6 separate regions of the Homo sapiens genome follow, and all the other regions are linked to region 4. The links are contacts of gene promoters, found by promoter capture Hi-C in blood cells and fetal thymus (Javierre and others, 2016). All regions are on one chromosome and are shown on one strand. Each heading gives the region's core, a stretch centred on a gene start or on the middle of the fragment in contact. The rest is flanking DNA. Distances are from core to core; before and after follow the strand shown.

Evidence for each region. The method cuts DNA at HindIII sites, captures the fragments that hold promoters and counts their contacts. A CHiCAGO score of 5 or more calls a contact.
Region 1: a fragment that was not itself captured here is called in contact with the fragment with the promoter of FDXACB1 in region 4 in 2 of 17 cell types (non-activated CD4 T cells and activated CD4 T cells); the score reaches 6.7 in non-activated CD4 T cells.
Region 2: a contact is called between a fragment that was not itself captured here and the fragment with the promoter of FDXACB1 in region 4, in 2 of 17 cell types (erythroblasts and naive B cells). The highest score is 5.3, in erythroblasts.
Region 3: a contact is called between a fragment that was not itself captured here and the fragment with the promoter of FDXACB1 in region 4, in 1 of 17 cell types (fetal thymus). The highest score is 5.4, in fetal thymus.
Region 5: a fragment that was not itself captured here is called in contact with the fragment with the promoter of FDXACB1 in region 4 in 2 of 17 cell types (total CD8 T cells and fetal thymus); the score reaches 6.4 in total CD8 T cells.
Region 6: a contact is called between a fragment that was not itself captured here and the fragment with the promoter of FDXACB1 in region 4, in 1 of 17 cell types (naive CD4 T cells). The highest score is 5.3, in naive CD4 T cells.

The regions. Positions count from the first base shown.
Region 1 is chr11:111,376,502-111,380,582 of GRCh38, forward strand. It overlaps POU2AF1 (POU class 2 homeobox associating factor 1), which reads right to left and starts at 2,774. Exons shown (of 5, transcript NM_006235.3): 1 at 2,661-2,774. The coding sequence starts at 2,676. RefSeq lists enhancers at 2,701-2,750, 3,401-3,490, 3,711-3,930. The HindIII fragment of the contact is 1,814 bases long and covers 1,730-3,543 here.
Region 2 is chr11:111,575,648-111,579,700 of GRCh38, forward strand. No RefSeq gene overlaps it. Among named protein-coding and RNA genes, the nearest start is that of SIK2, 25 kb to the right of the region's middle. The HindIII fragment of the contact is 8,958 bases long and covers 1-4,053 here.
Region 3 is chr11:111,527,137-111,530,863 of GRCh38, forward strand. All of the region lies in intron 3 of HOATZ (HOATZ cilia and flagella associated protein), which reads left to right. Among named protein-coding and RNA genes, the nearest start is that of LAYN, 12 kb to the right of the region's middle. The HindIII fragment of the contact is 5,067 bases long and covers 1-3,727 here.
Region 4 is chr11:111,876,484-111,880,670 of GRCh38, forward strand. It overlaps FDXACB1 (ferredoxin-fold anticodon binding domain containing 1), which reads right to left and starts at 2,682. Exons shown (of 5, transcript NM_138378.3): 1 at 2,478-2,682; 2 at 2,073-2,229; 3 at 325-528; 4 at 1-156. The coding sequence starts at 2,649. It overlaps CFAP68 (cilia and flagella associated protein 68), which reads left to right and starts at 3,058. Exons shown (of 4, transcript NM_022761.3): 1 at 3,058-3,122. The coding sequence starts at 3,078. RefSeq lists enhancers at 2,350-2,969, 2,466-2,935. The HindIII fragment of the contact is 2,066 bases long and covers 1,399-3,464 here.
Region 5 is chr11:111,556,406-111,560,261 of GRCh38, forward strand. LAYN (layilin) reads left to right here. Exons shown (of 7, transcript NM_178834.5): 6 at 1,136-1,238; 7 at 3,690-3,856. Among named protein-coding and RNA genes, the nearest start is that of LAYN, 18 kb to the left of the region's middle. The HindIII fragment of the contact is 3,362 bases long and covers 789-3,856 here.
Region 6 is chr11:112,292,266-112,296,211 of GRCh38, forward strand. It overlaps LINC02762 (long intergenic non-protein coding RNA 2762), which reads left to right. Exons shown (of 4, transcript NR_126004.1): 2 at 1,462-1,664. Among named protein-coding and RNA genes, the nearest start is that of LINC02762, 23 kb to the left of the region's middle. The HindIII fragment of the contact is 602 bases long and covers 1,605-2,206 here.

The DNA.
Region 1 (4,081 bases), core at 1,387-3,886, 500 kb before region 4:
TTCTACTTCTCTGTGCCAGCAGTTCTGGGCTTTGTCACTTTATGCTCTAATCTTAACCAAAAGCCAGGGTTCACATTTAGTCCACAAACTAGGGTCATGGGCTAGGTAGGGAGGAGGTAACATTCACAAAGTGAATGTTTTCTTAACCCTTTCCAGAACCCCATAGTACAGTCATTTCAGCTCATGCCTCGAGGGTGTTTTCTGAAAAAAGAAAGTGCCCTTTCAGCACTCTTGGTGTCTGATTTCAAACCCTGCCCTTCCATCGGGTGACTCTAAGTGGGCTGACATGCTGCCCTGTTTTTACTGATTTTCCCACACGGTTTAGTCACCCAGGTGCCCTCTATACCACATACTTGGGTTCAGGCTAAGGGGGTGGGTCCAGAGCCCAGGGTCTCTCCTACTTTTCCTTTAAGGCTTAAAGGACAATTCAAGATAATTTTGATTTGTGTTCATCTGAACATGTGGAAACATTCACCCCAGTTATTCCATTGATGAGCTTACAATGTGGTCTCCCTTACAATGGAGTTTTGATCTATCTGACTGGTCTCCAGGGTGTGAGCAGGAAGCATGCCCTCCAGCATCCCCTTTAAAAAATTTGGGGGACAGGTGCAGTGACTCACACCTGTTTGGGAGGTCAAAGCGGGTGGATCACTTGAGTCCAGGAGTTCGAGACCAGGCTGAACAACATAGTAAAACACCATCTCTACTAAAAATACAAAAAAAAAAAAAACAGCTGGGTGTGGTGGCGGGCACCTGTAGTCCCAGCTACTAGGGAGGGTGAGGCGAGAGAATCACTTGAACCCAGGAGGCAGAGGTTGCAGTGAGCCGAGATCGCGCCACTGCACTCCAGCCTGGGCAACAGAGCAACACTCTGTCTCAAAAAACAAACAAACAAACAAAAAAAGTCTGTTCATCTCTTAGAAGGAATTAGAAATGAAAAAATGTACTACAGAACCAAGAGGGGAGAATATGGCAGATGGTGAATGCAGGGAAGCAACTCATATCTCAGAGGCTGATGCAGACAGAGCAATGAACATGACTTCGGTGGCACCTCACTTACTAAGGATAGATCCTCAGTGTGGATATGATTTTTACCCCCACTTAACATACAAAAAACCTAAGGATTGAGAAAAAGGAAAGTGGCTTGCTCATAGAAGGTAGGAGCTGAGGCAAAACTCCTTCCAGGGGCTCACACAAAAATCAAATGATTCAGCCCTGAGTGAAAGGGCACACAGATGCTTAGGGGCCCCCAGTAAAAAGATGAATGCCCACCTGCTCTCATCCACACAGCACTCACAACAGGGTCAGCTGCCATTGTCCCAGAAAGGATAGGCTGCCGCTGCTCCATCGCCTGTTGGGAAGAGTGGCGTGCCAACAATTCTTGAATATTCCTAGTTATCTTGGAAGGAGTCCATAACTCTCAAACCCAAATTAAAGCTCATTTCTCTTTATTTTTTTAAAAAATTGACCTTTTGATATCAAACAATGGTGGGTCTTCACAACCTGAGAAATTTTGAAATCACTCTTCTGTGTTACTGGTTAATCAGCTTAATTCCAGAGAAATTTACATAAGACATAAAGCAAACAATAAATTGGTGATGACAGTGTCACATTTTAATCAATGAAGTTATATTTTCCGAACTTTAGTGGATCCAATCAAGTATCTTTCCATAAAATAAAAACATTCCCTAATATATCTTCTTCTGTAAATCTAGATTCTCTTATATTAAGCTTGCTTGAGGCACAGCATACTAAAATTAATTAAAACGAATTTTAAGGAACCAAGAATCTTTAAGAGAAAGACAGAGCAATTTTTGGTCATTCTTCTTGCTTGAGGAAGTATAGAACTAGCCCCAATAAGGTTCAACTCTCAGAAGCTGATGAGTTGACGCTGTTTACCTCGTGAAAAGAATGTTGTAAATAATCTGTATTATTTCAGTTATTAGTAAGGTAAGTCGCTGTTTGGTCCACATAAAGGAAAATAAAGTTCACAATTGTTTCATCCAACTCCGGGGATAAAAATCAAGGCCAAAGATAAACCCACTGCATCCTTTGCAGTGGGATGGACAAGCCTTGTCACAGAAGGGGAAAAAGAATGACGAAAGGCAAGACAGTGGAGCAAGTGAGGACACGCTTCACCGAGCCAGATCTCCACTCCTCCCAGGGTATCCACAGGGACAAGTCACACCTGGCAGAAAGCTAAGTCACTCAGCTAGAAACAGGCCCAGGGAATTCAACAGAAGGCTGAAGAGCCACTGCTTATGGAAATAAAGCCCCTCCTGTAAAGAACTGCATGGCTTTTCCCTCCCAACCCCAAACCCATCCCACATCTGGCTTTTGTTGTGTGAATCATAAACTGCCCTTTCTTCACCACAGTGATTCATGCACAGAAGCGGAGGTACCCTGAGCCGTCCCACCTTGGAACACTAGTTCGTTCCCCTCCAGCCTGGAAAATCAGCATCACCTCTGACAGGCTGGTTTCTCCACCAGGCTCCATCCCGCCCACCTCCCCCCTCCCTGCTCCGGGGCTTGGAACCCAGACCCCCTCCCCCCGTGGCCCCATCACCTCCACCACCAGCTCCCCAATTCCAGACCAAGCTGTGATCGCCCTGCCCCGCTGGCACTCGCTTGGGTCTGACAGCCACAGCCAAACCACTTACGTTTTTGCCAGAGCATGGCCTGTGACAGGATGTTGCCTTTTCTCTTTGAAGCCGACAGTTTGGCTTCTTTAATGTGAGACCGGGGTGTGTTTTCCTCCAGTGGAGCCACCGCTTGAGCTGAGGCTGTTTCCTGGGCTTTTTAAAGGCCTGGGTTCCCGCTGCGTGGGCCGCGTCATCACATCCTCCCACCTCAGGCACCGGTGCAACGTTTCTGCAGCCAGGCCGCCTGTCACCCCACTGTGCGCGCCCCAGCGGCCCCGGCCCAGAGCGCTCCACACTCGGAGCTAGCCAGCTGGGACAGAGCAACAGCGCAGCGCGGGCAGCCACAGCCTGCACCGGCCCCGCGGGGACCTGCTGTGTGTGGGTGTGAAGGTGGTGTGGGGCAAGCTGTGGGAACCCCGTGTCAAGCCCTCCCCAGGCCAGTGATGAGCCCAAAAGCTCCTCTGGAAAACGTTGATCTTTGCACGGCGCCCATGCAGGCTTCCAGGCCACCAGGGCATGGGCAGGACTCAGCCCGCCATGGGCGCCTGCTCAGCGGGAAATGCGATTCCCAGGGGTCACTGGTTCTCAACTGGGAGGAAACACCTGTCATCTCTTCAAGCCTCAGTAAACAACCTCCTCATTCTTTCAATATTGCTTTTCTGTTTATTCCATTTTGAAACACAGTAGCCCCTCCCCTCGCCCCCAGCCACCCCCAAAATGGCAAGGCTTAATCATGCTGAAATATGGGGGCGCTGGCTCTGATGTCGGCTATGCCCACGGAAAAAGAGGCCAACCCTCAAGGAAGGAAGGAGAACATGCCCGTGCTCTTTGACTGGATCTGGGCTTGTAGGCACAAGATGAACAGAGCCTCTTTGCGAGTGCCCACCCACTGATAACAGGAAGCTTCTTTAAGTAAGTCATGGGCTCACCATCTGGAAGTGTAGATGGTGTTGGCTACCGGTTCCTTCACAGTTTGGAAGCCTTCTGCCACTGCATATCTGAGGTCCACATGCTCAGGCTCCAGGGACTCAGTCAGTTTGGGGTCAAGACCCCTTGGCACACCCCCTAGAGCAGGTGTGGGGCCTTGCTGCTCTGCCATCCATACTGCCTCAGAGCCATCTTGCACCACCTAGACCTGATCATGCTATCCCCTAGCCTACAAAGCATTCACCTTCTCCCTTCAGCCACAGAGCTGGAGGCCTAGAAGGCCTCCCACAATCGAGCCGTTGCCTTCCTTTCCAGCCTCACCACCAACTGCCCTCCTACCACTGGTCCCAGTGCCCTCTAAGCACCACCAAACACCCATGCAATTCCCTGCCTTTGACCTTGCCGTCCTCTCTTGCCGGAAGGACAAACCCCCAGCCCAGAGAATACTTGTTCGTCTTCTCAGATCTTAGAGCACTTTGTTCATTATGTGATGGTGAATTGTCACATGACTC
Region 2 (4,053 bases), core at 441-2,940, 300 kb before region 4:
GGGGATGGAGTTTTGCTCTTGAGGCTGGAGTGCAATGGTGCAATTTTGGCTCACTGCAACCTCTACCTCCTGGGTTCAAGCCATTCTCCTGCCTCAGCCTCTCAAAGTGCTGAGATTACATGCGTGAGCCACCGCGCCCGGCCCAGTCCCTGTTTCTTAAAGTCAGCTTGTCGTGCCTCATTAAGTCAGACTTGTTTTAAAATGTGACATTTCTTGCATGGTAACGTGACAAATTTTCTTTATCTAACCATATCCCAAGACAGAGGTGTACTGACCCTATGTAAATAATGACATGGTCATAAAAAATAAAGTGAAGCAACAAATGGCACTTCAATAATAACCACTGTTACATGCAGTTTTACAGACAAGCCAATCAATGTGTGTCACTCTTTCTCAGAATCAGTTTTCTTAGATTTTTCTCTTATTTATTCACTTATAATCTATACCCTAAGATATTTTATAGATTTTTTTTCTGAATTCTGAGACATCAGTTGTAATGAGATACCATTTAAAGAATGTTTTGTTCCACTTCGTACAGGGTTTGTTTATTAAATCGAGAATTAGTGATAGATCAAGAAGAAAGAAAAGGGGTGTTGTTCTCATTTGCCAAACAGAATATAGATTAGCCCCAAGTGAATTTTCATCTTAATTTCTTTCCATCCTGCATCATTAATTCTTGTTTTCTGAACTTGGTTTAAGTAACCCTACTATCACAAAGTCATCTGCTTTTAGACTAAATAAAAGGTCCTAGAAATGCTCAGTCACACAGTCCAACCATGGGCTTCAGGTGACAGTGTCAGCTTATACTGGAAAGCCTGTGTCCATGAATCTGTTCCATTTAGTGTCAATAGTTAAAAGAACCTATTTGAGGCCATTGCTGAGGTTATGATCCCCTTGATGTTTCTTCCAGAGACTCCATTATTAATTTATTGATTAATATCAAGGGTGTTTAGATAATTGCAAAGGAAAAGAAGAAACTACCTGTTGACGACAAGACTGAATGGCTTGGGTTAATTTACTATAATAATTAATAGTATCTACAATAAGAAAAATGAGACATAATGTACAAGTATTTTTAAAGGATTTAATCAACAATTGCTCCGAAAGTAGTAACATCCTATAGACAACAAAGGCATTGACAGATCTCCAGGACTTTTTAATTTATCCCAATGTGTATTTTTTGGTAACCAATTGACACAAGTATTTTAAAACAGAAACGTTGACTAAGTCTTGCCGACAGTTATTGTGCCAGTCTTCACACATTACCTTGAGTATGCTCTATCTGTCCTGAAAGACTACAATTGCTGAAACATGTTCATTTTAATATTAATAACATGCTTTGTATATAATTGACCAAATATTAATAACATGCTTTGTATATTTTTGTATATAATTGACCTAGGGAAGTTGGTTTGCCAACCGTTCCTATACTATGGGCTTGGCAAATGCCGTCACAAATACAGAGAATTCCAAGTATATTCAATGACTTCCGGCAACCCTCCTTTTACAAAATGAGAAAATAAACTTTGATGTTGTCTAAGAAAGAAACCTCAAAGACAGTTTGGTTGTAAAAGATATATTAACAGTTTTACTATTCAGAATATGAGAAAAGCCAGTCTAAAAAGTTGTCGGCCAGGCGCGGTGGCTCACGCCTGTAATCCCAACACTTTGGGAGGCTGAGGCGGGCAGATCACGAGGTCAGGAGTTTGAGACGAGCCTGGCCAACATGGCGAAACCCCGTCTCTACTAAAAATACAAAAATTAGCTGGGTGTGGTGGCAGGCGCCTGTAATCCCAGCTACTCAGGAGGCTGAGGCAGGAGAATCTCTTGAACCTGGGAGGCAGAGGTTGCAGTGAGCTGAGATCACGCCATTGCACTTCAGCCTGGGCAACAGAGTGAGACTCAATCTCGAGGAAAAAAAAAATTGTCAAAGGAGACAAGATGGGAGTATAAATCATAAGTGCCTAAACATGCGAAATGGTTACAATCTTTGTTATGGTGAAAATACACAGTAGTGTGTAACAATATTAGGAATTGTAGTCTTTTCAGAAGTAGAGTTTGTTTAAAAATTATTTCAGTGAATGATTTAAAAATCAGACAAAATGTTATCAGGCTTCAAATAAGTATATTTTAGTGATACCTGGAATCTCTGCTAGTTGCACACAGAAAAACTTTTTGTTATTTCTTGTGATATGGTTTGGCTCTATGTCCCCACCCAAATCTCATCTCAAATTGTAATCCTCTTGTGTTGAGGGAAGGACCTGCTGGGAGGTGATTGGATCACGGGGGTGGTTCCCCCATGCTGTTCTCGTGATAGTGAGAGAGTTCTCACCAGAGCTGATGGTTTTATAGGTGTTTGGAAGTTCCCCCTTTGCAGCACTTCTCTCCCTCCTACCACCTTGTAAAGAAGGTGCCTGCTTCCCCTTCTGCCCTGATTGTGAGTTTCCTGAGGCCTCCACGACCACATGGAACTGTTAGTCGATTAAACCTCCTTCCTTTATAAATTACCCAGTCTCAGGCATTTCCATTTCTTTTTCTTTCTTTTGTTTTTGTTTTTTGTTTTGTTTTGTTTTCCAAGACAGGGTCTCGCTCTGTCACCCAGGCTGGAGTACAGTGGCGCAATCTCAGCTCACCGCAATGTCCACCTCCCGGGTTCAAGTGATTCTCCTGGTCAGCCTCCTGAGTAGCTGGGACTACAGGCGCATGCTACCATGCCGGACTAATTTATGTATTTTTTGTAGAGATGGGGTTTCGCCATGTTGCCCAGGCTGGTCTTGAACTCCTGAGCTCAGGTGATCCACCTGCCTTGGCCTCCCAAAGTGCTGGGATTACAAGTGTGAGCCACCATGCCCAGCCTCACAGGCATTTCTTTATAACAGTGTGAAAATGGACTAATACACTTGTTAGTATTAACAAGTTGAGATCGTATACTCAAAGCTCAATGTTCTTCTGAAATACTTGGCTTTCTCCTCCTTATCACTTAAAGTTCCCTTTTCTCAATAAATTTAATATTCCACTATTTAGACATACAAAATGCAGTTAAACATACAAAAATAAATATACATCCTTAAATGGCAAACATGAGGCTTTAAATTTTAACTTCAAAATATATTGATCTTACCAGAATATTACAAGGTAATGTTTATCCACATTAAATTTACCATCTTAGTAGAAATATAATGCTGCTCTTGAAATATAAATGGGGCCAGGTGCAATGGCTCACACCAGTGATCTCAGCACTTTGGGTAGGCCAAGATGAGCAGATGGACTGAGTCCATGAGTTCGAGACCAGCCTGGGCAACATAGGCCCCATCTCTATAAAAAAAAATTTAAGAAAAATCAATAGACAAAACATATCCATTATCTTGTGTATGCATCTGTATCTCTTTGCAACAACTGTATGGCCTCAACCACCATGAATACTAGTTCCAGCTTTCAACCAAAATAATCAACATCTGCTCCCTCAAAGGCCCAGAGAAAATGGAGAGGTGAGCAACTAAGAACAGTCTATTGCACACAAGTACCTTAGCAGAAAAGCAAGGCTCAGTGAAGGCCTCCTGAGTCCCACAGGCTCTAGCACATATATATTTCACATTTTTCAAAATGGAAAGCATGAACATGTGAACTAACATACAACCCAATTTTTTTGTTTTCTTACAGCACATGGCCAGTCTCATTCCATCCAAAACCCCACCCACTACCAACTCATCCCCAGGTTATTTTGAAGCAAATCCCAAACATTATCTCATTTCATCTGTAAATATTTCAATAAGAATCTCTAAAAGATAAAGATTCTTTTTTGATCTTTAAACATGATCATAACAATTATCTAATGCAAAAATTAATTCCTTAACATCATAAAATATTCAACCAGAGTTCACATTACCCTAATTCTGAGCATTTTCAACTTCATTATTTAAATCAGGATCCAAATAAGGTTCAATACATTGCAACTGAGCAATATGTATTTTAATTCTACTTTAATTTATAGGTTTCTCTTCCATCCCCTTTTTCCTCTTGCAACTTTTTGTTGAAGATACCAGGTCAATTGGC
Region 3 (3,727 bases), core at 1,070-3,569, 350 kb before region 4:
CTTCTGCTCTGCATGCATTTTGTGTGTGCATGCATGTACGTTCTTCAGGCAATTATTATTGGTAAAATATATGTAACAGATCTAAGAAAATATATGTAACAGAACCAAGAAAATACACATTTTTTTCTTCCTCACAACAGATAAATTCATACTTGATTGAAATCTGCATTTAAGAAAAATTGTATTGACTCCCTCTTATATAATGACTAATTTTTTTTCTCATTTTAGTAAGTTGTTATTTTTCAAATGAAAAGTGTATATGTCAGACCTAGGAGTTGAGCCAAGATCAAGCAATTTCCAGGAGGTATAGAAAGGTGCTTAGATCTGCATCTTTTTCCTGCAAGTCAGCATTCTTCCTTTCTCTGATTAATAATCCTGTAACATCTTCGATCCACTCCCATAGATTACTATAGTTAGGTCTATCTTTTAAAATCAGATTATACTGGGGAAAGCCTTCTCACTGATTATTCAGCCTGTCTTTTAAAGTGCATAGTAGATAATTTGAGGTCCAACAGTTCTGTATCTTATTATTAGAGTAGATATAAATTTCCTATATGGTAGTTGTAGAATCAACATAGCAGATTTCAGTTAATAGGCACAGGGAATGGTAGTAAATTCATAGAGTAAATTCATAGTTGAAGCATTCTGTTATCAAAATCAGCAAGCCAAGATGCATACTGCTTTTTGAAACCAGGCCCAAATATGAGATGTTTTAAAATGATAAATCAATAAAAACCTTAAGTCAATCATAATTCTCACCTTCCTAATGATTGCATTTGTAACATAAAAATGAAATGGAACCCACTGAGGAGTGAGATTCTTGCAGAATGTGAACTGAAATTCCCTAGTACACCTATAGACAGTTAACTCTCAATCACTGGGATAGAATTAAAAATTAAGGCTAGGTATGGTGGCTCATGCCTGCAATCCCAGCACTTCAGGAGGCTGACCAAAGTGGGAGACTGGCTTGAGCCCAGGAGTTCAAGACTAGCCTAGGCAACACAGGGAGACCTCATCTCTACCAAAAAAAAAAAAATCGTTTTTTAATTAACTAAGCGTGGTGGCATGTGCCTGTGGTCCCAACTACTTGGGAGGCTGAGGTGGGAGGATTGCTTGAGCCCAGGGGGCAGGAGGTGGAGGTGGCAGTGAGCCCTGATGGTGCCACTGCACTTCCACCTGAGTGGAGAGCAAGACCCTGTCTCAAAAAAAAGAAAATTAAATTCTGGAGGCTCAAGGAAATAAAAATCAGATAATGTTCTCAATTTCTGTTAAACCATAGAACCTTGGCTCTGCCTAGGTAATATTCTGAATTTGGAATGTAATTCCCATTTTACAATTAATTTATAATTTAAAATCCTTGCATAAATATTTCATTTACACTACGATCTTAGAAAGCTCCTCAGTTTATAAATACCACTATAATTCAACTATCTTTACCCTTTAGCCACATCTTGCAAAGAGCCACATGATACCTTCAAATAAGTAAATTAACTATGATCAAGGCTGAGCTCAAGCTGGATTAGCTCCACCTGCTGTATTCTGATAAGCATGCGTTTTCTACAAGAATAAGAATGTTTCTGTGAGAGCAGAGACTATATTTTTCTTCTTCAGCATGGTTGATGCTAACTCATTTTTAGAGTAAAGATTGAATGAAGAAACCATTCTGTCACTCTGTGTGTGTGTGTGTGCATGTGTCTGAAGTCTGTGTGTGTTTGAAGTCTGTGTGTTTGAAGTGTGGCAAAAGAAGCACAGGAAATGACATCCAACAGAACTGGAAATGAGTTTAAATCTTTGGCTCTGCCAGTTACTAGTTAGTTAAGTGACCCTGATAAAAGTTGTTCATTTTTACGTGGTTTAGTTTCTTCTACCTGTAAAGAGGTAATAATAATAATGCCCACTTCACTGTGCTATAAAGATAAAATGAGATAACCTATAAGGAACTCACACAAGGCCTGATATCTAGCAGTTACTCAGTGAAAGTTTGTTTTTATCTTCTCTGCTTCCCCCTCTTCCTTTTTTTTCCAAACCCATGATTGAAAAATAAAATTTTAGCAGGTTCAAAATAAGCATTAGCATTAAATGGAAATGCTTTGACTAAAAGGGTAACTCTCAAAGGATGATGACTAGATTACTAAAGGCATGATCACTCAAGTATCCACATCCTGATTAAAAGACAGAAGATTGGCTTGCTCATAGTGTTAAAATGAGACTCATATTATTTTCTCTTAATCTTTTTCTTTTTTTTTAAGACAGAGTCTCACTCTGTCGCCAGGCTGGAGTGCAGTGGTGCAATCTCGGCTCACTGCAACCTCCGCCTCCTGGGTTCAAGCGATTCTCCTGCCTCAGCCTCCCGAGTTGCTGGGACTGCAGGCGTGCACCACCACACCCAGCTAATTTTTGTATTTTTAGCAGAGACGGGGTTTCACCATATTGGCCAGGATGGTCTCGAACTCCTGACCTCATGATCCTCTTGCCTCAGCCTCCCAAATGCTGAGATTACAGGCATGAGCCACCGCACCCGGCCCCTCGTGTTATTTTTGATGAATGTTTCAGTCCAAAAATTTCAATCATAATCCACGAAAGAAATGCAGTTTGTATATGGGAACCAGGTCTTGAGAAGAAAGGACCTTTCTTCTAAAGTCTAGTGTTTATTAAGAGCTTTTTTTATAATTGAATATTAACTGAAAAGAAAGTTGATAACACACCAGAAAATTCGTGGTCAGAAGAATTTGCACTGCATATTTAATAACAAATCATATCTTTAACATCTCTCCTTGTTTCTCCTTTCCTCCCTCAAACTGTATTCACCAACTGACCCATAGGTCAGAGGTTGAATCGTAAGAATTCCTTCATGCCTGTAGACAAAAAGCAGACAATCTGTCCTCTTTTTTCTTACTCTTTTCAAGATTTTAAAAGCACTGAAAGAAAAATTTTCTAATAATAATAGTGTTATAATAACTACCATTTATTAAATGTTCACCATCTGTCATGCATTTCATTAAGTAATTTTTATCTCCAATTTTCACAACAACCTTCCTCACAGATTAGAAATCCACAACTGGGATTGTGGATTCTTTGGTTTACCTAAGATCACGAAGCTCTAACTTACATGTCAGTGATTACTGCATAGTTGTGGTGGGGAAAGGAGGAACCAGGCGGGAGAGTTAAGCTAGAACTTGCCATTCAACACACAGCGGAACTGGGATTCAAACCAAATGTATTTGACTCTACTAATACATATTGCCACTCAAGTCATTTGGCTCTGAAAAGCCAAAAAGAGAGAACCAGACAATTTAACTCTTGAGGTGACATTAAAATTCATTAACCATCTATAACACATTAAATGTATATGTTATATCACATCCTAATTTTCTGGAATCAGTTTTCTTTCACAATTTATTTTTTCAGGAATAGTATAAATATAAATCATAAATAAAAATATAAATATAAGTCACTAGTCAATGGTCAAAGATGTTATAAAGATAAATTCTGACCCCCTTGTATTAACAGTTAATTGAATAATTATAAAGTCTTATAAAATTCCATTAATAAGCCCAACCAAAACACTATAATTAGAAATGAAAATTTTTTGTTAATATGAAATTAAGAAGTAAGTTATGCTTCCTTACTAATAATATAAGTTATAAGGATCTTCTCTTACCAGTGAATTGTATTTAGCTTTCCTGGCAGAGATTTCCTAGAATATTCCACAATGTTTTTGTTTAGA
Region 4 (4,187 bases), core at 1,432-3,931:
TTCAACTTTCCTACAAGTGCTTCTGGTTCTGGAAAGGAAAACCACTGGTTACCCAGTTTGATCCTGAAGATTCTGGGTTGAGAACCTTCAAAAGGTAAGCTCCTGGTGAAGATATGGTTCAAAGCACCTTCTACATGAAAGGACTTATCTTGACTCCTGGCAAAATAGACACCAATATGAAGTCTGTCATTATTAAAATAAGCAAGTATTTTTAGAGACCGAATCAATTAATTGGCAGGGCCTATTGAGTCTGTCTATGAGATTTTGTTATCATTAGTGAGAGAGATGAAAACGCAGAAGGCTTAAACCTATGCTATTACCTACCTATATCCAGTGCACTTGTACCCTGCCACAGCCTTACAGCTGAATGGATACACGTCGCTTAAAATGAGCCCCCCCAGGGCTGCCATGGCAACCACTTGCCAACTGTTGTGCCATTCTCTCTGGGGCTTATCCGCAGGAGTTCCACCTTGTCCTCTACATAATGCCACGTGGACTTCTCCTTCCTCTGCAAGAACGTCTGCACAGCTAATAGGGAGAAAAGAAACACTAACTAATTATCATAAACAAGCAGAAATTACCACAGGAGTTGGCAACATACACATGGTTTGCCTGTGAAATAATTAAAATCCAATCATACCTATGTGCAAAAATCTATTAGACCTCAAAAAATGCAAAGAAAGTAGCTGGAAGTAAATAGAAGCATAAATTAAATGTTCAACCCACTCACTGATAAGATTGGCTGACCAGGGTCTGCTTTGCATTTGTGTCATTCATGCATATGTCACAGAAAGATCAATATCTGCACAGTTCCTATATATGATTCATTGCTTAGGCTGTTTCTTCCCATTTAGAAAGTTCTTTTCACTGCCCTCCTGAAATTCAAATACTAGTTTAAAATACCACCTCTGTCAAAACTTTATTGACAGCTATGCCCCATCGGACACCTCCAATAGTATCATGTCTTGTGGTATAATCATGTAAAGCACTGTTTTCAGTTCACAATAATTTTATGAGGCTGTTAGTTACTTTTTTTTTTTTTTTTTTTTTTGAGATGGAGTCTTGCTCTGTCGCCCAGGCTGGAGTGCAGTGGCACGATCTCAGCTCACTGCAACCTCCACCTCCCAAGTTCAAGCGATTCTCCTGCCTCAGCCTCCCAAGTACCTGGGACTACAGGCACGTGCCAGCACGGCCAGCTAATTTTTATATTTTTAGTAGAGGCGGGGTTTTGCCACTTTGGCCAGGCTGGTCTCAAACTCCTGACCTCAGGTGATCTGCTCACCTCGGCCTCCCAAACTGCTGGGATTACAGGCATGAGCCACCACGCCTGGCCCAGTTAGTTACTATTAATATCCCTAGTTTACAGTTGAGGAAACGGAAGCATGTAAAGATTAAGTAAGCTTGCTTAAAATAACAACTGTTGGCCGGGCGTGGTGGCTCATGCCTGTAATCCCAGCACTTTAGGAGGCCAAGGCAGGCGGATCACAAGGTCAGGAGATCGACACCATCCTGGCTAACACGGTGAAACCCCATCTCTACTAAAAATACAAAAAATTAGCTGGGCGTGGTGGCGGGCGCCTGTACTCCCAGCTACTTGGGAGGCTGAGGCAGGAGAATGGCGTGAACCCAGTAGGCGGAGCTTGCAGTGAGCCGAGATTGCACCACACCACTGCACTCCAGCCTGGGCGACAGGGCGAGACTCTGTCTCAAAAAATAAAAATAAATAAAAATAAAAAAATAACAACTGTTAAGTGGTGGGCTGGGATTTGAATCCAGGCAGTCTGGCTTCTAAGTGCACGTTCTTAGCCATTAGACTATATGGCTCTCATTATTTTGCACTGTCAAAAATAAATGATCCTCTTTTACACACCCAAGAGTACATTATTTGTACTTTCATTTAGCATTTAGGGTTTATATATCTGTCTTTCCAACTAAACTTGGGGTTCCTTTGGGGCTTTATAGTCTCTTCTAAACATATCATAGTAGCTTGCACGTGTGCCTTATGTTTGGGTACAGTAACTATGTTATGGACATCTTAAACATTTTCCTTGTGAGGGCGCTCCTTTCCTCACCTTTGGAAAAATTTGGCAAGCAGTTCCCTGTTCTTAGCTACGCCAGCTTTGCGTCCACAATGCGGGAAGATGAAATAAATTTGATCAAATTCTCTCTCGTGCAGTTCAAAGACATCTGCCAGCTGGGTGCAGTCCACACCGAAACGTACATCGATACCTGGCAAAGATAGTTTGGGGGCGCAAAATATAGACAGGAGGATGCCTCAAGACATGGAACAGAAAAACTCTTCCTAACTTAAACCGTGCAGACCAGCCCAAGTCTGGGCACAAAGCCGGCTTTATGTGAATATCCGTGGGACGATCAAGAACAATCTCCACGTGGGTTACATCCCCACGCCCCCACCCTTTCCACTTTGGGACGCGCCGGCCGCTGGGCGGGGTTTCGCAGAGGGGCGGGCTCGCTACCTCGCTCGCGCAGGCACTGCAGATTCTCCCAGGCCAGTGGATCCCGAGCCAACTCGGCCGGGCGCTGGAGGCAGGTGGCGGTAAGTTGAGTGCTCTGATCCAGGGTTTCGCTCAGAGCGGCGGCGAAGGAGAAATTCCCCTCCCCAACCAACAGGAGGCGCCGAGGGGCCATGGCCTCCACGGACTCCCGGCTCGCGTTCTCTGTGGCGCTCGTTTTACGTCACTTCCTTCACGGATCTCTCTCCGCCCCGTCTTCTCCCGTCACTAGTTGATGACGCACCCATGGCGCCTGGTTGTCTAGACGAGCCGGTGTACCGACTCCCCGGTGGATGATAACTATGAGTGCAAAAGCAAGACGCGCACTTTCCTGTCACCTCGCCCTTTCACCCCCTCGGGAAGATCAAAGTGTCTTTAGCCCAAGCATGGCCTTGAGCGACTTCATCACACCTGCATGAGGTCACAAGCAGTCACTAGCGCAGGGGGGTGAGGCGAGTTCTGGGTGAAAGAAACGGGGCGGGGCTGAGGCCAAGGAAGAGGTTGGACTGTGTCTCGCATGCTCCTGACGCAGAAGGTTTTGAACCTTTTTTCACCTCGTCTGAAATGGCTGCCTCCCAGTGTCTCTGCTGCTCAAAATTTCTCTTCCAGGTGCTTAAATCTCCTATCTTCTATTCGTTCAAGAAAGAGTATTGAGTGTCTATTGCGTGCCAGGCCACTGTGAGGGTGGTTACGATATGTGGATGAACAAAATGTGGCCTATGATTTCAATGAGCCTGCAGTCTGGTGGGGAATGCACAGAGCAAAACAGGCAACTCTGATATGGCAGGGTGTGTGCTCTGGGAGCACACAGAAGAACGTTACCAAGTTTGGGGGCGAAGAGGGTCAGAGAGTCCTTGGATGAAGTAAACCCGAGTTGAAAGCTAACAGGGTAAAAGTGCATCTTAACTGAGTCAAGAGGCGTGAAGAGGCAGAAGGAACAATATATGCAAAAGCTTGATGGAGAAACAGAATAGTTGAGTTTGGCTGAAACACAATTGGAGGGAGAGTAACAGATGAGACTGAAGAGTTAGGCAGGGGCCAGGTCATAGGGAGCGTTGTAAGCCTTTAAAAAAAATCAACTTTTATTTTACAAATGGGGGTACAGGTACAGGTTTGTTACGTGGATATATTGCACCCAGGTAGGTTGCAGGTTTGCTACATGGGTATATTGCACCTAATAGTTTTTCAACCCACACCACCCGCCCTCCCCACTCTAGTTAGTAGCCTGGAGTGTGTGTTGTTTCCATGTTTAGGTCCATGTTTGCTCAATGTTTAGCTCCCACTTATAAGTGAGAATGTCAGAGGTATTTATACCAGAGCAACTCCGTCTTGAATAGGGGCTAGGTAAATAAGGCTAAGACCTGGGCTGCATTCCCAGTAAGTTAAGGCATTCTTAGTCACAGGATGAGATAGCTCAGCACAAGATACAGGTCATAAAGACCTTGCTGATAAAACGGGTTGCAGTAAAGAAGCCAGCTAAAATCCACCAAAACCGAGATGGTGATGAGAGTGATCTCTGGTCATCCTCATTGCTACACTCCCACCAGCGCCATGACAGTTTACAAATGCCATGGCAAAGTCAGGAAGTTACCGTATATGGTCTAAAAAGTGGAGGTATGAATTAATCCACCCCTTGTTTAGTATATAATCAACAACCATAAAAATGGGCAACCA
Region 5 (3,856 bases), core at 1,220-3,719, 320 kb before region 4:
TAGGCTCAAAGCCCCAACCCTATCATCACATGGTTGGTCTTTCTGGCATGGCCAGCCCCCGTCTGAATCATCTCCTTATAAACCCTCTTATGGTCTGAGGGGCTCATGAATAACAAATTCACTCCTATTACTGGGGAGAGTCCAAGGATTTAGAGCCTCTCTCCCAGGAACCAGGGACAAAGGCCCATCAGATTCTTTATTATATAACATATATGTGAAAAAAGTACAAAGTGCTCTGCAAAGGTGGGTGGCATTTCTATTGCTCATTGTTATTATGGTGGTATTTAAAGTGGGTTTTGAGGGTTTAGGGGTTTTAGTGGTGGTCAGGTTTGCAATCTCACAGAAGAAAAGCCAACAGCCTCTGGATAGTCAGGAAGCTTGGGTCAGTGGGAGTAGGAAGAGGGTTAGCCTCCAATCCTTGATTCCTCCCAAAGCCACTTGAGGGGAACATCTTTGGTTCTAAGTCTTAAAGGACTAGAAAGTTCAGAAAAGTAAGCCTCTAAGTGCTCTTCACAGTCATGGCTCATGGACCCAACTGAATCTAATTGGTCTTAGAAATGTCAGAAAGGTTTTACACTGTAATTTACTTGCTTCCTGTGACCTCTTTCCTGGTAATGACACTGAAACTTCTGGCTTGCTTCTTTTTCCCTCTCTTTCCCCCATCCCATCGTGGGAACTCCGTGACTGTCCTTGGAGGCAAAAGCATCAACACTGCCCCAGCGGCCCCTGCTTTACTAAGGGAGGACAAGAAAAGAGAGACTCTCTTTTCTCTGAAAAAAAAAACAAAAAGCTTAATTAACAAAAGTGCCCTTCTGATATTTGGAAGACCTAAAAATTTAAACTGATTTTCATTATCACTTAGGGTAATAGGACAGGTAGAAAATGCTCATCCATCGAAACCAGAAGACTCTTTGCTAACTGGCTAGATGTGTCTTGATCACTCAGGAATGAGCTCTTTGGAATACTCTGTGTTGATTAGCCTTTTCCTTTGTTTTGTTTTTTAATTTTTTAATTTTAATAGATTTGGGGGTACAAGTGGTTTTTGACGATTATGCTTTTTTTAAGCCTGGTTTGAAGCACAGAAAAACAAAACAAAAAACAGCCAATGCTGATCATGTGCTTTCTTTCTTTTCAGAAGCTGCCTTGAATCTGGCCTACATCCTAATCCCCAGCATTCCCCTTCTCCTCCTCCTTGTGGTCACCACAGTTGTATGTTGGGTTTGGATCTGTAGAAAAAGGCAAGTAAAACCTTCATTGTGTAAACCTTTGCATCTTCTGCTCTCTTTGAGATTTGGATATTGCCTTGTTTACTTCATTAAAACCCACGGCAGCACCAAGAGTATCACCATTGCAGATTGGAGAGTGGGTTCTCTGACAGGTCAGGGCATTCAGAAGTACTAGGCATTTGTGCTTAGTTGTGATTAAGAGAGTGATCTTACTTGCTTTACTGTCTGTACGTGGAAGATTTTAAAACAACTTGAAGGGTGAAATTGCATTATTCACCTCCCGTGCACTCACACGTCACCCAGCAAAAATGCTCTCATGAATGTATGCCCTCACTCTGAAAATGTTTGTGGACTGAGTGAAGGAATGAATAGTGAGCCATATGAAAAATGACTGCTGCAAAGTATTCTGGTAAACATCTGAAACTAAACCACTTAATTCAAACTGAAAGAGCCAAATTCCTTTTAACTGACTTTTCTTTTAATTCAGTACACAAGTATAGAGTGCTATAAAATAGCTACACTAGGTGGCATCAACAATTTCTGTATATGGTCAGGATCGTGTGCCACTATTTTATTTTATTTTATTTTATTTTTAGTACTGAAAGCTCTTCTCAGTTACCTTTTTATTCTCCATCATCATGGTATATGGAGAAGATGTCTAGTATTCCCATTTACAACAGGAAAACTAAGGCCCAATTTAAGATTTGACTCCCTTTAAAGACCAATTTGAGATGAATTAGTAAGATTCCAATGTAAAATCTATTTCAGTTAATTGTAACTTCCTTGTAGGATTATTATAAGGATTAAGGCAGTTAATACTTGCAGAATAAGTATATACTAAGCACTTGAATGTTACCTATTATTGGGATTATTTTATTAGTTATTTCCTTTGAATCTTAAAGTAGAATTTAGTTCAAAAAATTACAGGCATATTTTCCAGCTGCCTACTCTGCCTACTCAGTTGGTTCTTGATTTCCTTTCCTGACTCTCTGTTTTGTACTTTAACAGGATTTGGGAATTGTGACTCTAAAGCTGGGGTGTCTGTCTATCCCAAGGGTTTTTAATCTTTTTTGTGCCCTGCAGCAGTCTGGTGAGGCCTATGGACTCCTTCCAGAACAATATTTTATTTTATTTATTATTTTATTTAAAAAAATATATATATATATATATATTTGAGACAGAGTCTTTCTCTGTCGCCCAGGCTGGAGTGCAATGGCGCAATCTCGGCTCACTGCAACCTCCGCCTCCCGGGTTCAAGTGATTCTCGTGCCTCAGCCTCCCAAGTAGCCGGGATTACAGGCACATACCACCATGCCTGGCTAATTTTGTATTTTTAGTAGAGATGGGTTTCACCATGTTGGCCAGGCTGGTCTCGAACTCCTGACCTCAGGTGATCCGCCCACCTCAGCTGCCCTAAGTGCTAGGATTACAGGCATGAGCCACCACACCCGGCCCAGTACAATATTTTAAATGCATAAAATAAAATACATTGGGTTGCAAAGGAAGCAATCATACTGTTATATAGTTTAGCAAAATATTTCCAAAAATGAATATGTGATTAGTAATACATGTACTCCTTTATTAATGCTTCTTTATTTAGTGCTGGGTATAATTATTATAATTTTGAAGTAGAGATGAGGTTAAAATATTTCAAGGCATCTATAACTGTGATATGAAAACATCTATAATTTCTAGTAGTGATCAAGTCAAAGATATTAATCCTGCTGTTTTATCTCTTACATTCATAATGGAAGGACATGCTAAATTTCACTTATGGATGAGTCGTGTTTTTTGTTGTTTTGGTTTTATTTTATTTTATTTTATTATTTTATTTTATTTTATTTTATTTTTGAGACAGGGTCTCACTCTGTCGCCCAAGCTGGAGTGCAGCGGTACCATCACAGCTCACTGCGGCCTTGACCTCCCAGGTTATCCTCCCACCTCAGCCTCCCAACTAGCTGGGACTGCAGGTGTGCACCACCATGCCTGGTTAATTTTTGTATCTTTTATAGGGACGGGGTTTTAACATGTTGCCCAGGCTGGTCTCAAACTCCTGGGCTCAAGTGATCCACCTGCCTCAGCCTCCCAAAGTGTTAGGATTACAGGCGTGGGCCACTGTGCACAGCTGAGGTGTTTTTTTGTTTTTTTGGGTTTTTTTTGTAATGTGGTATTTTTTCTCTATTCAGTTCTATCCCTGGACACTCCAGGGACTCTAGGGAACCCCAGGATAATAACCCTGCCCACACTTGGGCAGCAGTGAATGACAGATACACAATCACTTTGAACATAACATCTCCCTGTTTGGTTCCCTCCCACTCCGAAGCCCTGGCCTGTAAGTTACATAGACGAGACATGCAGCTGGGTGACTGCCCAGGGCTGCTTCCTCTCGTCTCAACAGGAAGCACAAGGGTATTCTCAATCACCTGGTCTAAAACACTCAGCCCTGGTTTTCTTTCTTCCTAGAAAACGGGAGCAGCCAGACCCTAGCACAAAGAAGCAACACACCATCTGGCCCTCTCCTCACCAGGGAAACAGCCCGGACCTAGAGGTCTACAATGTCATAAGAAAACAAAGCGAAGCTGACTTAGCTGAGACCCGGCCAGACCTGAAGAATATTTCATTCCGAGTGT
Region 6 (3,946 bases), core at 656-3,155, 420 kb after region 4:
CCCTTCTCTTCCCCTTCCCCTTCTTGCCCTCCTTCCTTCCTTCCTTCTTTCCTTCCTTCCTTCCTTCCTTCCTTCCTTCCTTCCTTCCTTCCTTTTTCTTTTGTTTCTGAATGTACAAAGAAAACACTTAAAAATTTGCTTGTAATTTAAAAACTTGTCAGGATATTTCTGGATTTGAGTGTTTCTTGGTTACTTTTACCTGGAACCTGGTGAACTGAGTCCATTCCTCTGTTTGCCCTTTCTGTACTTTTTTGGAAAGTTTTCTTTAATTATATCTTCAATTATTGTTTCTCTTTTGATTGTTCTAGATTCTTCTTCAGAAACATAACTCTTAGGCTCAATCTCTATTCCTGGTCTTCCATAGCTATCGTCTTCTTTTTAAAGTACTGTATTTTATTGAATCTAAGCTAGTATTTGTTGTAAGAAGCACTATTATTATATGTACAACTAAGGAAGAAAAAATGCTGCCAATTAAACTGTGACATAATGCCATGATTACAGTCCTGTGAAATTGGTAAGTTGCTCACACCATTCTCTCTCTTATTTTGATAGACTTCATCTATTTTGAGGGACTTGGCAGTTGCTCCTGCCTTTGGTTGCATTGTTTGGCATGTGACAGGCAATTCTTTTTGCATGAGTCTCAGTTACAAAACATAACACAGTTTCTACTTAAGGATACCTTCTTTTCTTGGGTCCTGTCAAGCACTTAGTTTAAAAAAAAAAAAAGAATTGCAGTGGTTGGTCCAATAATAGACATTTGCTTCAGTAATATCAAATTACATCCTGCTGCTTGAATTCCATGCCTTTCTGCATACATAATAACTTCTCATTTCAATGCCAAACCATAGTGTAATCTTTTAAAAGACATTTTAAATGGCAATTAAACTCACATGTAATTGCAACAATGTATACAACTCAATTAAAGTGCTAACAACATGAACAACTGAGACCAAGTTCACCCATGCCCAGGTCTTGATGACCTCACCATGGCAGCTCCCTGGCCCAGGGTGATTATAAGATGCCAGTGATTGCAAGACTTGGCCTGATTTCAGAAGTGATGATGTGGCAACACAGACATCTTAGAATTAAGGAAATAGTTTTAATTCTTGGTGCTCTTTCTTGGCATTCTGAAAGTGTTCCTCCAGTTTGCCATCTAAGATATTCCTTAGTTTTCTGCCATGTCCATTTCACTCATTTACTCCTTCCTATATGACTTTTAATTATTGTTTAATAATTTAATTTTCTTGGGAATATCTTTCTCTTGTTACAACCAGTTTCCTTTATATCTTTTCTTGGACTCCATTGGCCAAATTCTCTTTCATAAGCCTGAAGCCCCTAATATTTACCCTGAGACTGTATTCTAGTTAGTAGAATGTGAATGGAGGTGATGTGTGTGACATATAGGACTTCCCCATAAGAGCCTTTAATGAGTTGTCCTCTGTTCTCTTTCCCCTCTTCCAGCTGAGTGCCATGAGAGGACAGTGACAACCTTGGGGCCTCATGGTGAAGGTGGCAGAAACTTTGTTAGCCTGGGTGCTCAGGGTGGACAGCTGCTCTTGCCAACCGGGAACATTTGCCTTGAGCTCTTTTGTAAGTGACAGATAAGCTTTTATTGTACTTCAGCCAAGATACAAACATTGGACGTATTTGTACAGCAGCTAAAGGTACTATAATAATACATATTCTGAAATCACTATGTACCCTAAAATATTTTAACAAAATTCTTGCAATATTTGTATGAGAACTGCTGGATTTTGCTTTCTTACCAAATTTGCTGTTGCTACTGAAAAAAGAGAATAACTTGGACAATGAAATGATCTCAAATGAGGTAATAAAATCATTACTGAATTTTAACAGTCCCATCATTTCTGCCAAAAAAAAGAAGCAGCTTTAGAATGCCATTCTTCTCCAGTGGGTGTGTGCTGGTCTGATTTGCTCGGACGTTTGCAGAGGGAAGAACACTTACAAGTAGTAAGGGGCTGAAGTCTGAGTGGATCATATCTGAATATTGTTTAATATTGTTTTAGATGACATATTTTTTAAAACTCCACTCTTCTAGCTAACTGCTTTCTCTTGATATCCTAAAAGTTTTGCTTCACTGTTTATTTTAAAAGAATCACAATTAGGTCTAACATAAACAAGGGAGCCGGCCCCCCATCACACTTTTGTAAGAACCTAAAATGTCATCTCACATGCCAGTCTTTGAAGCTTATCCTGATATCAGTTTAACTCAGCTTGTTTTCTGTATCTATATATCTATATGTATTTGTGTGTGTGTATATATATATGTATGTGTATATATATGTTTTTCAGTTTCAATTTCATAGGGCCATATTATGTTTTTATATTATAAATGCCAGTTTTAAAACATTTTCTTCTGGTTTCTATAGTAAGTTATCTTCAGAAGTGTGCTCTTTTTCTTAGTCTTCTGGGTGAGGCTCTGTTTCCCTTATTCTCTTATGGTGAATGCTGTTTTTCCATAGGCCTCCTGAGGGTTCCCTCCCCTATATCCCCAATTCCAGCCTGGCACATTGTTTACCTTTAAGCAAGTAGAGCTCCATGGAGCCTTGGTGCTTGCTTGCTAAAAGAGGAAGTGTAGACTGTGCAGATTGTCCTTGGCTTTGCTCACTGCCTTATTCCTAGGTCTGTAGCTGAAGGTCAGTTGTGGTGCACAGCTCCCCAGAATTGAAGGGCATTCATCTTGTGCGGCCCTGCTGAACTGGCATGGGATCTCTCCCTTCCTCTTCTGCCTATTCTCTAACAAACAGAACTGATGGGGGATGTGAAAATCTTACTCTCCAGCACAAACTACCTTTGTGCTTCCTATAAGGCATGCTGTGTGGAAAAAATGCCTTCCAAAACATGACGTGCCATTGCTAATCCTCTTCCCCTTCCTACTCTGTGGTTTCCCAGTAATTGCATTCTATGAATGGATGTAGATAGAGGGAGAGGGAATAGTTCTCCGGCTCCTCCAAAGAGTAGCAGTCATAATAGAGAGCCAGGTTTTCATTTGGCTTGGTCCTGGGTCTCTGAACTGGGGGTAGACAGTAGGAGAGAAAGAAAATGTCTATCATCTTTCGAGACAATGTGCTGTTCTGTTTTCTAAGGCGAAGCATGGACTGTTTGTCTCAATGCAGCTCAGCTTTAGCAGCTTTATTTAGTTAGTAGAGATTCCTTCTAGATTCTGGTAACAGGTTGTTAGTCTTCATTTTCATTATTGTTGTGAGTTTTTGTCATTTTTCTGTGTAATAAATAATTTAGGGAGAAGTTTGGAGACACTTTGTCAGGAACTTCTAGCCAAATGCCATTTTAAACTCTAAGTGGACCTGATTTTATTTTACTTAAAAAAATTAGGTCTGGGAATGAGTTCAGTTTATTTATTCGTCATGTTCTGCTTGCCTTAAACCACTTATGAAGTGTCCGCGGCCTCCAAGGTTGCCTTCCAATGCTTTTCTACATCTCATTGCTGCCTGCACCTTTGGAGGAGGCAGGGTGAGTGAGACCTTTTTTGGTAGCTTGTAGCCATGCCAAGCAGTCATCAGATGGTGGGTAATTTCTTTTACCTAGGGTCTCATTCACGGTTCTTTGGTTGTTAATAATAGAAACCAACTACAGCCAGTTGTGGGGTAGCGGGGTGCGGGAAGGGGAAAGAGTACATTGTGATACTGGGATATCTTACAAGATCCCAGGACAATTGGGCCTTTTAAGAGGTGGGACTGGGAGCTCTGAAGCTGTTAGGAGCCCATAGTCCTTGTTCATTCTCTTCCTCTGCATCCCTGTAAAAGAAACATTAATTGCAAACAAAGTCCTGTTCAGGGTGTACATGTGACTTTGCTCCTCACGTGCATGGCATAAAATGGATGCCCCATAGCTCCTGAGTTTTCCTCTTGTTTATCCAAGTAACCAGCTCAGATTGACTGGATGCCTCTAAGTCCTAATTTCAGAC